3 separate regions of the Homo sapiens genome follow, and regions 2 and 3 are each linked to region 1. The links are contacts of gene promoters, found by promoter capture Hi-C in human tissues and cell types (Jung and others, 2019). All regions are on one chromosome and are shown on one strand. Each heading gives the region's core, a stretch centred on a gene start or on the middle of the fragment in contact. The rest is flanking DNA. Distances are from core to core; before and after follow the strand shown. Region 1 holds the start of NOB1 (NIN1 (RPN12) binding protein 1 homolog). Region 2 overlaps WWP2 (WW domain containing E3 ubiquitin protein ligase 2). Region 3 overlaps NFAT5 (nuclear factor of activated T cells 5).

Region 1 (2,780 bases), core at 246-2,745:
GCCTGTACTACTCTAGGGAGTATGCTGGAGGCAGAGGACAAGGGAGGGGTGGTATTAAACAAGTCAATTCTATGTAGTATATTATTTAATCAGTTCTGTGTGGTGCATTCCTGAAGTCTCAAATGTGATTGTTGAGGGCCTGGGGAAACCATGGCAAAGTAGATCCAGTTAGAGCCCATTAATCTTGATCATTCTGTTTTTTTGGTTTGTTTGTTGTTTTTTTTTTTTTTTTTTTTTGTCCATCTTGTTTCATTTGCTTGCCCTGCCCCCGAGATGGAGTCTTACTCTGTCGCCCAGGCTGGAGTGTAGTGGCACGATCTCGGCTCACTGCAATCTCTGCCTCTCGGGTTCAAGCTTGTCCAGGCTGATCTTGAACTCCTGACCTCGTGATCCCCTGCCTCAGCCTCCCAAAATGCTGGGATTACAGGGGTGAGCCACCGTGCCCAACCTCACTTGCTTTCTTATCCTTACACTCCCCCAGTCCCAGAGAAACTGCCACATACACCACAAAAACCAAACATCCCCCAATGACCTTAGCCGCATTGCTCCATTCACTCCCAGGTGAGAATTCAGGTAAACGTCCACAAAGGTCACAGGCAACGTACATACGGTTCTATTATATCCCATATATTACCCCTTCATGTCCTAAAGAAGACATTTTCTCTTAGAGATTTTCATTTTAGTATATCTTTAAAAAAAAATCTTGTGTTAACTTGCCTCCATCTTTTTCTTGGGTGAGGACACCCAGGAATGACCCTTTTGTGTCTATGATACTGCTGTTCACAGCTTTTCTTGATAGGCCTAGTACAATCTTGGGAACAGGGTTACTGTATACTGAAGGTCTGACAGTAGCTCTTAGACTCGCCTATCTTAGGTAGTCATGCTGTGCCTTTTTTTTCCATTGGTGTATTGTATTTGATTTGTCTCTGATATATTTGGAGTTTTTCTGAGAACTGGAGCAGTAATGCAGCATCGACCTATTAAAATACATTTTAAGCCTTTAAAAAAAAACAGTACCTATCTCATAGGGGTGCTGTGATAACGAAATTAGGTAATCTGTATTGATTGACTTTTAACCATAAGAATATATACAGGTTTTAAATTTATTTATTTATTGAAGAGATGGGGGTCTCTCTATGTTGCCCAGGCTGGTTTCACATTCCAGGGCTCAGGCAATCCTTTCGCCTCAGCCTCCTTAATAGCTGGGACTCTAGGCGCGCACCACTACACCTGGCAGGTTTTATCTTCAAAGGTGAAGAAGGCACTAAGGTCTAGATGCTGAAGCCGATTTCCCAGGTGTCCCCCAAGGTTTGACCCCGCCCACACTTCTCTGGCTATGCGGGCGGCGTCGCTGCGCATGCGCGCGAGTAGAGCAGGGAGGTGCTGGCGCGGCCGCCAGGAGGCGCAGCTAAGTCGCGGCTGCTCTTCCTGGTTCCCAGAGGCCCAGACTTGGACATAGGAGCCGGCGCAAGCTCCGTGCGCATGCGCGCTCCCCTCTCACGCAGCCAACATGGCTCCAGTGGAGCACGTTGTGGCGGATGCTGGGGCTTTCCTGCGGCATGCGGCTCTGCAGGTACGGGGAGCTCCCTCCGGGACGAGAGAGATCTGGGCTGGCCGCCCCTCCCGGAGTGCGTGGAGTCGCGCGGAGCGTTGCTTGGTGCGGGTGGGTCTGAGCTGGGGCGTTCTGTCCGCAGGACATCGGGAAGAACATTTACACCATCCGGGAGGTGGTCACTGAGATTCGGGACAAGGCCACACGCAGGCGGCTCGCTGTCCTGCCCTACGAGCTGCGGTTCAAGGAGCCCTTACCGGAATACGTGCGGCTGGGTGAGTGCCTCTGCCCTAGCGTTGACGGGAAGCTGGGGTCCAGGGCGCAGATGGCACCCAGTTGGGTGCGAGTTGGGGTCTAGCTGCCTTATCAGAGCAGTAGATTTAGAGCCAGCACTTTCTAGGAGATTGTGGTAGGAGAGAGGCTTCCTGGGTCTGGAGTCCTCCAGTAACTAGCTGTATGCTCTCGGGCATAGCATTCAAATTTGGGCCTCGTTTACCTCATCCGCAAAATGGGAATAATAATTGTATCTGTCTCCAAGGTTGCTGTGAGCATGAACTGAGGAATATGGCAGTCAGCTCAGTGTCAAGCACTTTGCAGACAAGCAATAAATTTATTTGGATTTAAAATAAGAGTTTGGATCTCTTGCTATTACTCTCGTCCATTTCTTTTCAGTAGATTGGGCTGATGACTGGATACAAAGATCTGCACCTGGCAGAGCTTTAAAAAGGGAATGCTTTGCATTGTATTAAATGTGAAAGAAAATTAAGCTGGGCGCGGTGGCTTACGGCCTGTAATCCCAGCACTGGGAGACCGAGGCGGGCGCATCACCTGAGGTCAGGAGTTTGAGACCAGCCTGACCAACATGGTGAAACCCTGCCTCTACTAAAAATACAAAATTAGCTGGGCGTGGTGGTGTGCTCCTGTAATCCCAGCTACTTGGGAGGCTGAGGCAGGAGAATTGCTTGAACCTGGAGGTGGAGGTTGCAGTGAGCCGAGATCGTACCACTGCACTCCAGCCTGGGCGACAGAGCGAGACTCTGTCTCAAAAAAAATAAGAAATAAAGAAAATTAAAGAATTGTCTCTTGGCTTAGGAGTCAGCGTTGTTCTCTTGTTGGGAATCAAGGTGATACCCAGGAAAGGCCCCTCAGTGGTTGGAAGTGTTTTAGAGGTTAGAGGCTGATAGTGGAGATGATGTTACCTCCTCTGTTTGTGATTTCTACGATTTTC
Region 2 (2,954 bases), core at 217-2,716, 150 kb before region 1:
GTGCTGGCACATACCTGTAATCGTACCTACTCAGGAGACTGAGGCAGGAGGATCACTTGAGCCCAGGAGTTGGAGGCTGCAGTGAGCCGTGATCACACCTCTGCACTCCAGCCTAGGCAATAGACCCCAACTCAAAAAAAAAAAAAAAGAAAATGCGCACTGGGTATAGTTAAAGATCTTCTCCCTCTGAATGCCCTTCTGATTTAAAAGCAAAGGGGTAACAATATTGCCAGCTCAAGAGGCTGGTGTTTCGTCTGTGGGGATTTGGCAGGGCCTTCTAGCACAGAAGACAGCCGACATACTGTAGCTTCACAGCAATTCTCCAAATACCTTCTGTCTGCTCGGTAACAGAGGAGCAAATCTGATACCCTCTTTATTCATCTGAATTTGGAAATGAAGAAAGTCCTGAGAAAGATATTTGGCTTAAGGATAAGTATTAAAAAATGAAAGCGCTGAGCGCCAATGGCAGCAAGCCTCTCTTTTATAACATCTGCTCCTAATGCAATTTAAGTAGCTGAGAACTCTCCAGCACTCCCGAAGAATTTAGCTGCATCCTTCCCTTCCTTGAAAACAGTTCTTTGGGTAGTTTTGTGGCACAAAAGCCCTAATACTAGTACGCTCATTTTTCAGTCACTATTTGGAAAACTCTAATATTTGGGTGGGCTGCCCCTTTTATAAAGACAAAATATCTGTTGTAGCAATTGGAGCTTAAAAACAAAACTTAAACACATTTTTCTTTCTTTCTTTTTTTTTTTTTTTGAGACAGATTCTTGCTCTGTCGCCAGGCTGGAGGGCAGTGGCGCAATCTCGGCTCACTGCAACCTCCACCTCCTGGGTTCAACCGATTCCCCTGCCTCAGCCTCCTGAGTAGCTGGGACTACAGGTATGCGCCACCACACCTGGCTAATTTTTTTGTATTTTAGTAGAGATGGGGTTTCACCATGTTGGCCAGGATGGTCTCGATCTTCTGACCTTGTGATCCACCCTCCTCGGCCTCCCAAAGTGCTGGGATTGCAGGTGTGAGCCACTGCGCCCGGCCATTTTTCTTTTATTCCAAAAATTCTTTCAACTTTCATCTTATCAGCAGTCTCCACTTTTGACATCTTTTATGTTCATTTGAGACAAGGAGAGAAACACTGATTTTATTACACTTTGGCTAACGTTTTAATATGAAGGTAGGCTAATGCTTCAAATTCCATGAAATAAATGTCTGTAATTGACACAGTGGTATTCCCACACACTGCCAGAAATGAAATCAGTGCTGAGTCCTCTTCCCTTATATTCAACAGTTTCAGCAGGTCTTCAGAGGACACAGGCCCAGATAAGGCCCACCCTTCCATCTTTGATCACGGCTGATGCTGGAAATGAAAGTCTCTCTTTCAGGGACTATTATTGTCCCGCAAAGCTCAATGTCCTTCTATGAACCCCCTCAACTGGCTTAGCGAGAAGAATAGTTGCCAGAGGAACAAGACCTTTCTTCCATCACCTTTTTTGATATCATTTTTTCCTTTTGCAGTTGGACCCCTGCTCAGATTAAATGTCCCTGCGGGTCCTCCCTGATCCATGACCTGGCCTGCCTCCCTTTCTCACAGAACCTCACTCCTCCCTCACCTGCATGGCTATTCATAATTCACACAAATCTCTCCCCTTCATTCAGGCAGCACAGTCGGTGGATTCTATCACCAACCAGACGAGCCTCCTGATTCCTGTTCCTCCTCAGTGGCCGCTGACTCACATAGATGGAGCCTCCGACTGTCTTGGTTTGGTCCCCCCCATGCCAAGAAAGTGACACTGGTATCAATTTTTCATCAGCGCATCCCTGTCAGAGGTTATATTTCTGTCACTTATAAGCAACTCCTTCACACTGAGATTAAAAGGCTTTTCAATCAAACTACCCACGGGTCTCAACACTGCATCTTGGTCACATGGGTCATCTCCTGTCCCCCTCGATAGCTTCCGTTGATGCTCTCAGGAACAGTGTTCAAAGCACCAAGCTTGTTTTCAGTCCCTACCCAACACATTGCTCCTTGGCCTTCAATGAGTAACATTTGGTTGGATCATGGACTACACGAGGTCTTTGTACTTCAAAGTACTTTAAAAGCAGTCTCCGTCTGACTGCAATTAATCTTAGGTACTTTTTCCTTTCCCTAAATTACCTTTGCACTGATGGATTGTAGCTGCCCTTGGTTCAGTTGTATATGAACCATGTTCCAACCCTACGTCCCAATCCACTCACAATTGCCATCTTCACAGGTTAAAGGCTAAACATCTCCATCTCATTATTAGAATGACATCAGCATCTCTCTCATGTTATCAGACAGGAAATCATCTGGTCTCCTGAACCATGTTTTCTTGTCAAAGGTTTCCCAAAGGTCTTCAGGAAATTAATGCTCAATTACCCGTTGTTACAGTGTGTGTTCAACCATTCTGATCACCATATTTCTTGGTCAGATTCACCTGTTTGAACCAAATCAACATTTCACCAAGAATAGGATTAAGCTAAAAGGGATTAAAGCTGGGCAAAGAGTTCGAGTGAATTTTAGATAAATTCTCTATTTATATATTTATTTATTTAGAGACGAAGTCTCGTTCTGTCACCCAGGCTGGAGTGCAGTGGTGCAATCTCAACTCACTGTAACCTCCATCTCCCGAGTTCAAGTGATGCTCCTGCCTCAGCCTCCCGAGTAGCTGGGATTACAGGGACTCGCCACCACGCCTGGCTAACAGCAATTCTTTTCAAGTGGCCCTTATAAATTGATACACCAAAATGGTCAAAATTTCAGTCTTGGTAAGAGCATTATCAGCTTGTATTATTCATTAATTTGCTTACTTTTCACTGACACAAGCACTGGGCATTATTAGTAAAGCTAACTCAATCAAAATCCACTCTCTCCATTAGAAAATAAGACCATGTGAAACCCCGTCTCTACTCAAAATACAAAAAAATTAGCTGG
Region 3 (2,762 bases), core at 175-2,674, 150 kb after region 1:
ATATAACCATATATTTAATAATCATTCCTTTCTAAACTAATCATGTCCTTGTAAACATACATAATAATCTATCAATGAAAAGAAACAAGCAGAATTACAATTTATATTATTTTACATATATTATTTTGTTGTTGATCTTGAAAGACAGTCTAATATTAAATTCACAAGATCAACAGCATTTTCAAAAATAAGAAAAAACTAATTTTGTCACCATTTGTTCATTTCGTGTGCATAGGTACACACACAGTAAATCACATGTTCACAGAAACCCGAGTCTGCTCCCAAAAAGCTTTCAGTCCAGTGAGGTTGACTGAAAGCACATAAATAGCCAATCAAAACTGTATCAAGACACCAGAGCTATGAGGGAAAAAAGGTAGTAGGAGAGAAGAAATATATAGAGGGCCATGCAAGAATGGTATGAATGTAATGAATGTAGTTTTAAGGGATTAATCTAATCTAAATTAATCTAAAATTCACATTAAAAGCAAGAATTTTAGAGGTAGAAGTGGTGAAAGTATTTGGTGTAACCCTCAGTTTTTACGGAGAAGAAATTATGTTCCAATTAGGTTACAACTTCCTTTGTAGAGCCAAGACTAGCTAAAGCTGGGTCCCAGGCAGGAGAATAGCTGGCTGAAAGATAAATTCTTTCCCCAGCATTCCTGTCTATGCAATTAGAGTAACACTGAGGTTAGGAATGCCATCTATTTTACTTACTATATTATTATGCCTGGCACATAATGGGCATTTCAATAATGTGCTTAATAAATAAACAAATGAATGAATAAGCAAATCATCTACCTTAAGTGATTCTACCCAAACAATTCTAAAACATAAATTCCTGTTTTTATACCATAATCTTAGAGATGAAAAACAAAAATATTAGACAAACAAAAACCAAAAAAAACCCATCTTGTTTTCCTTTCTGTCATTACCAGAATATCCTACTACCTGAACTAAAAATGTTATCTTTCTATGTTATATTTAATCCAAATACCCTGTCCCCTCACGTCCTATCTTCCAACTTCCACCCCATTATCACCTAAATCACCAATTTTCTGATTAACAAAAATCACTTTTCATATCTCAGGGTCTTCACTTTCAGTTATTTTTAAAGCCTTAAAAAGTTAGTTTTCTTTTTTTCTATTTATACGCACAATTTTTTTCCCTTCTTTGACCCAACACTGAAGAACTCAACAAGACACTCGCTCTATCTGTCTCTCTCTCTCTCTCTCTTCTTGTCTCACTCTGTTGTCCAGATTGGAGTGCGGTGGCACAATCATTGCTCATTGCAGCCTCAACCTCCCAGGCTCAAGTGATCCTCACACTTCAATGTCCCAAGTATGCTGGGCCTACAGGCTCATGCCACCATGTCCAGCTAATATTTTCTTTTTTCTTTTTTTTTTTTTTTTTTTTTTCAGTAGAGACAGGGTCTCACCATGTTGTCCAGGCTGGTCTTGAATTCCTGGGCTCAAGCAATTCTACCACCTTGGCCTCTCGAAGTGCCGGTATTACAGGTGTGAGCTACTGCACCTGGTCCTACTTTGTCTTTTCTATTCTACACAAAGATGATCACCCACAAGCAAGTATTCAGACCTCATACTTTGAGATATAAGCTGATGTTTACAGAGATCAAAAATAAGTGTCTACAATGAGTGGCAATGAACAAATGATCAAATTCATTACTTCTGCCTCTTAATTCAATTTTTTCCATTTTAACTTTGTTTCCCTTACTTTCCGTACAACTGCAGAATGCCTCTAACTTAAGACTGGTTTTCAACAGGGAATACCAGAATTTCATGTAGACATATGTATATTTTTTTTAACCTGAATGAAGATGCCTGGGATTTCATCACAGACCGACTACTGAATAGGGGTTTACAGGGAATAAGATCACAGAATGTATATGTGTATAAAGCTTCACAAGTGATTCTGGCTAACAGCCATTACTCTGAAGCATGAAATGCAGCTGGAATGAAAATGGATTGGCTTGTATTTACTACCTCTTTAAGCATTGCTAGTTAATTCATTTTTTTCTGAAGAGTCTAGGAAAGAACAGCAACCAAAGACCTGAACCACCTTCTTCTGCAGATTACCTAAATACTTTTTTTTTTTTTGAGGCGGAGTCTCACTCTGTTGCCCAGGCTGGAGTGCAGTGGCATGATCTTAGCTCACTGCAAGCTCTGCCTCCTGGGTTCACACTATTCTCCTGCCTCAGCCTCCCGAGTAGCTGCGACTACAGATGCCTGCCACCACGCCTGGCTAATTTTTTGTATTTTTAGTACAGACGGGTTTTCACCGTGTTAGCCAGGATGGTCTCGATCTCCTGACCTCGTGATCCGCCCGCCTTGGCCTCCTAAAGTGCTGGAATTACAGGCGTGAGCCACCACACCTGGCCAGATTACCTAAATTCTTCAACCTAGAGGAAAAAACAATTATATTTACATAACAAAAAATTAGCCGGGCGTGGTGGCAGGCACCTGTAGTCCCAGCTACTTGGGAGGCTGAGGCAGGAGAATGGCGTGAACCCAGGAGGCAGAGCTTGCAGTGAGCAGAAATTGTGCCATTGCACTGTACCACAGCCTGACTAAAATGACAACTACTATTTCACATGGTGGTAGATAATTTTCAATATACTTATTTTTAGTAGAGACAGGATTTCACCGTGTTAGCCAGGATGGACTCGATCTCCTGACCTCGTGATCCGCCCGCCTCGGCCTCCCAAAGTGCTGGGATTACAGGCGTGAGCCACCGCGCCTGGCCAC

Evidence for each region. The method cuts DNA at HindIII sites, captures the fragments that hold promoters and counts their contacts. A contact is called where the count stands out against the background at its distance.
Region 2: a fragment that was not itself captured here is called in contact with the fragment with the promoter of NOB1 in region 1 in 1 of the 25 tissues and cell types used here (dorsolateral prefrontal cortex).
Region 3: a fragment that was not itself captured here is called in contact with the fragment with the promoter of NOB1 in region 1 in 2 of the 25 tissues and cell types used here (bladder and dorsolateral prefrontal cortex).

Annotation. Positions count from the first base shown.
Region 1 is chr16:69,753,641-69,756,420 of GRCh38, reverse strand. NOB1 (NIN1 (RPN12) binding protein 1 homolog) reads left to right here and starts at 1,495. Exons shown (of 9, transcript NM_014062.3): 1 at 1,495-1,573; 2 at 1,695-1,827. The coding sequence starts at 1,511. It also overlaps the pseudogene NONOP1. RefSeq lists enhancers at 1,203-1,825, 1,826-2,449. The HindIII fragment of the contact is 4,198 bases long and covers 1-2,780 here.
Region 2 is chr16:69,901,572-69,904,525 of GRCh38, reverse strand. The region is part of intron 8 of WWP2 (WW domain containing E3 ubiquitin protein ligase 2); the gene reads right to left. Among named protein-coding and RNA genes, the nearest start is that of MIR140, 30 kb to the left of the region's middle. The HindIII fragment of the contact is 7,452 bases long and covers 1-2,954 here.
Region 3 is chr16:69,608,473-69,611,234 of GRCh38, reverse strand. The region is part of intron 2 of NFAT5 (nuclear factor of activated T cells 5); the gene reads right to left. Among named protein-coding and RNA genes, the nearest start is that of NFAT5, 44 kb to the right of the region's middle. The HindIII fragment of the contact is 3,452 bases long and covers 1-2,762 here.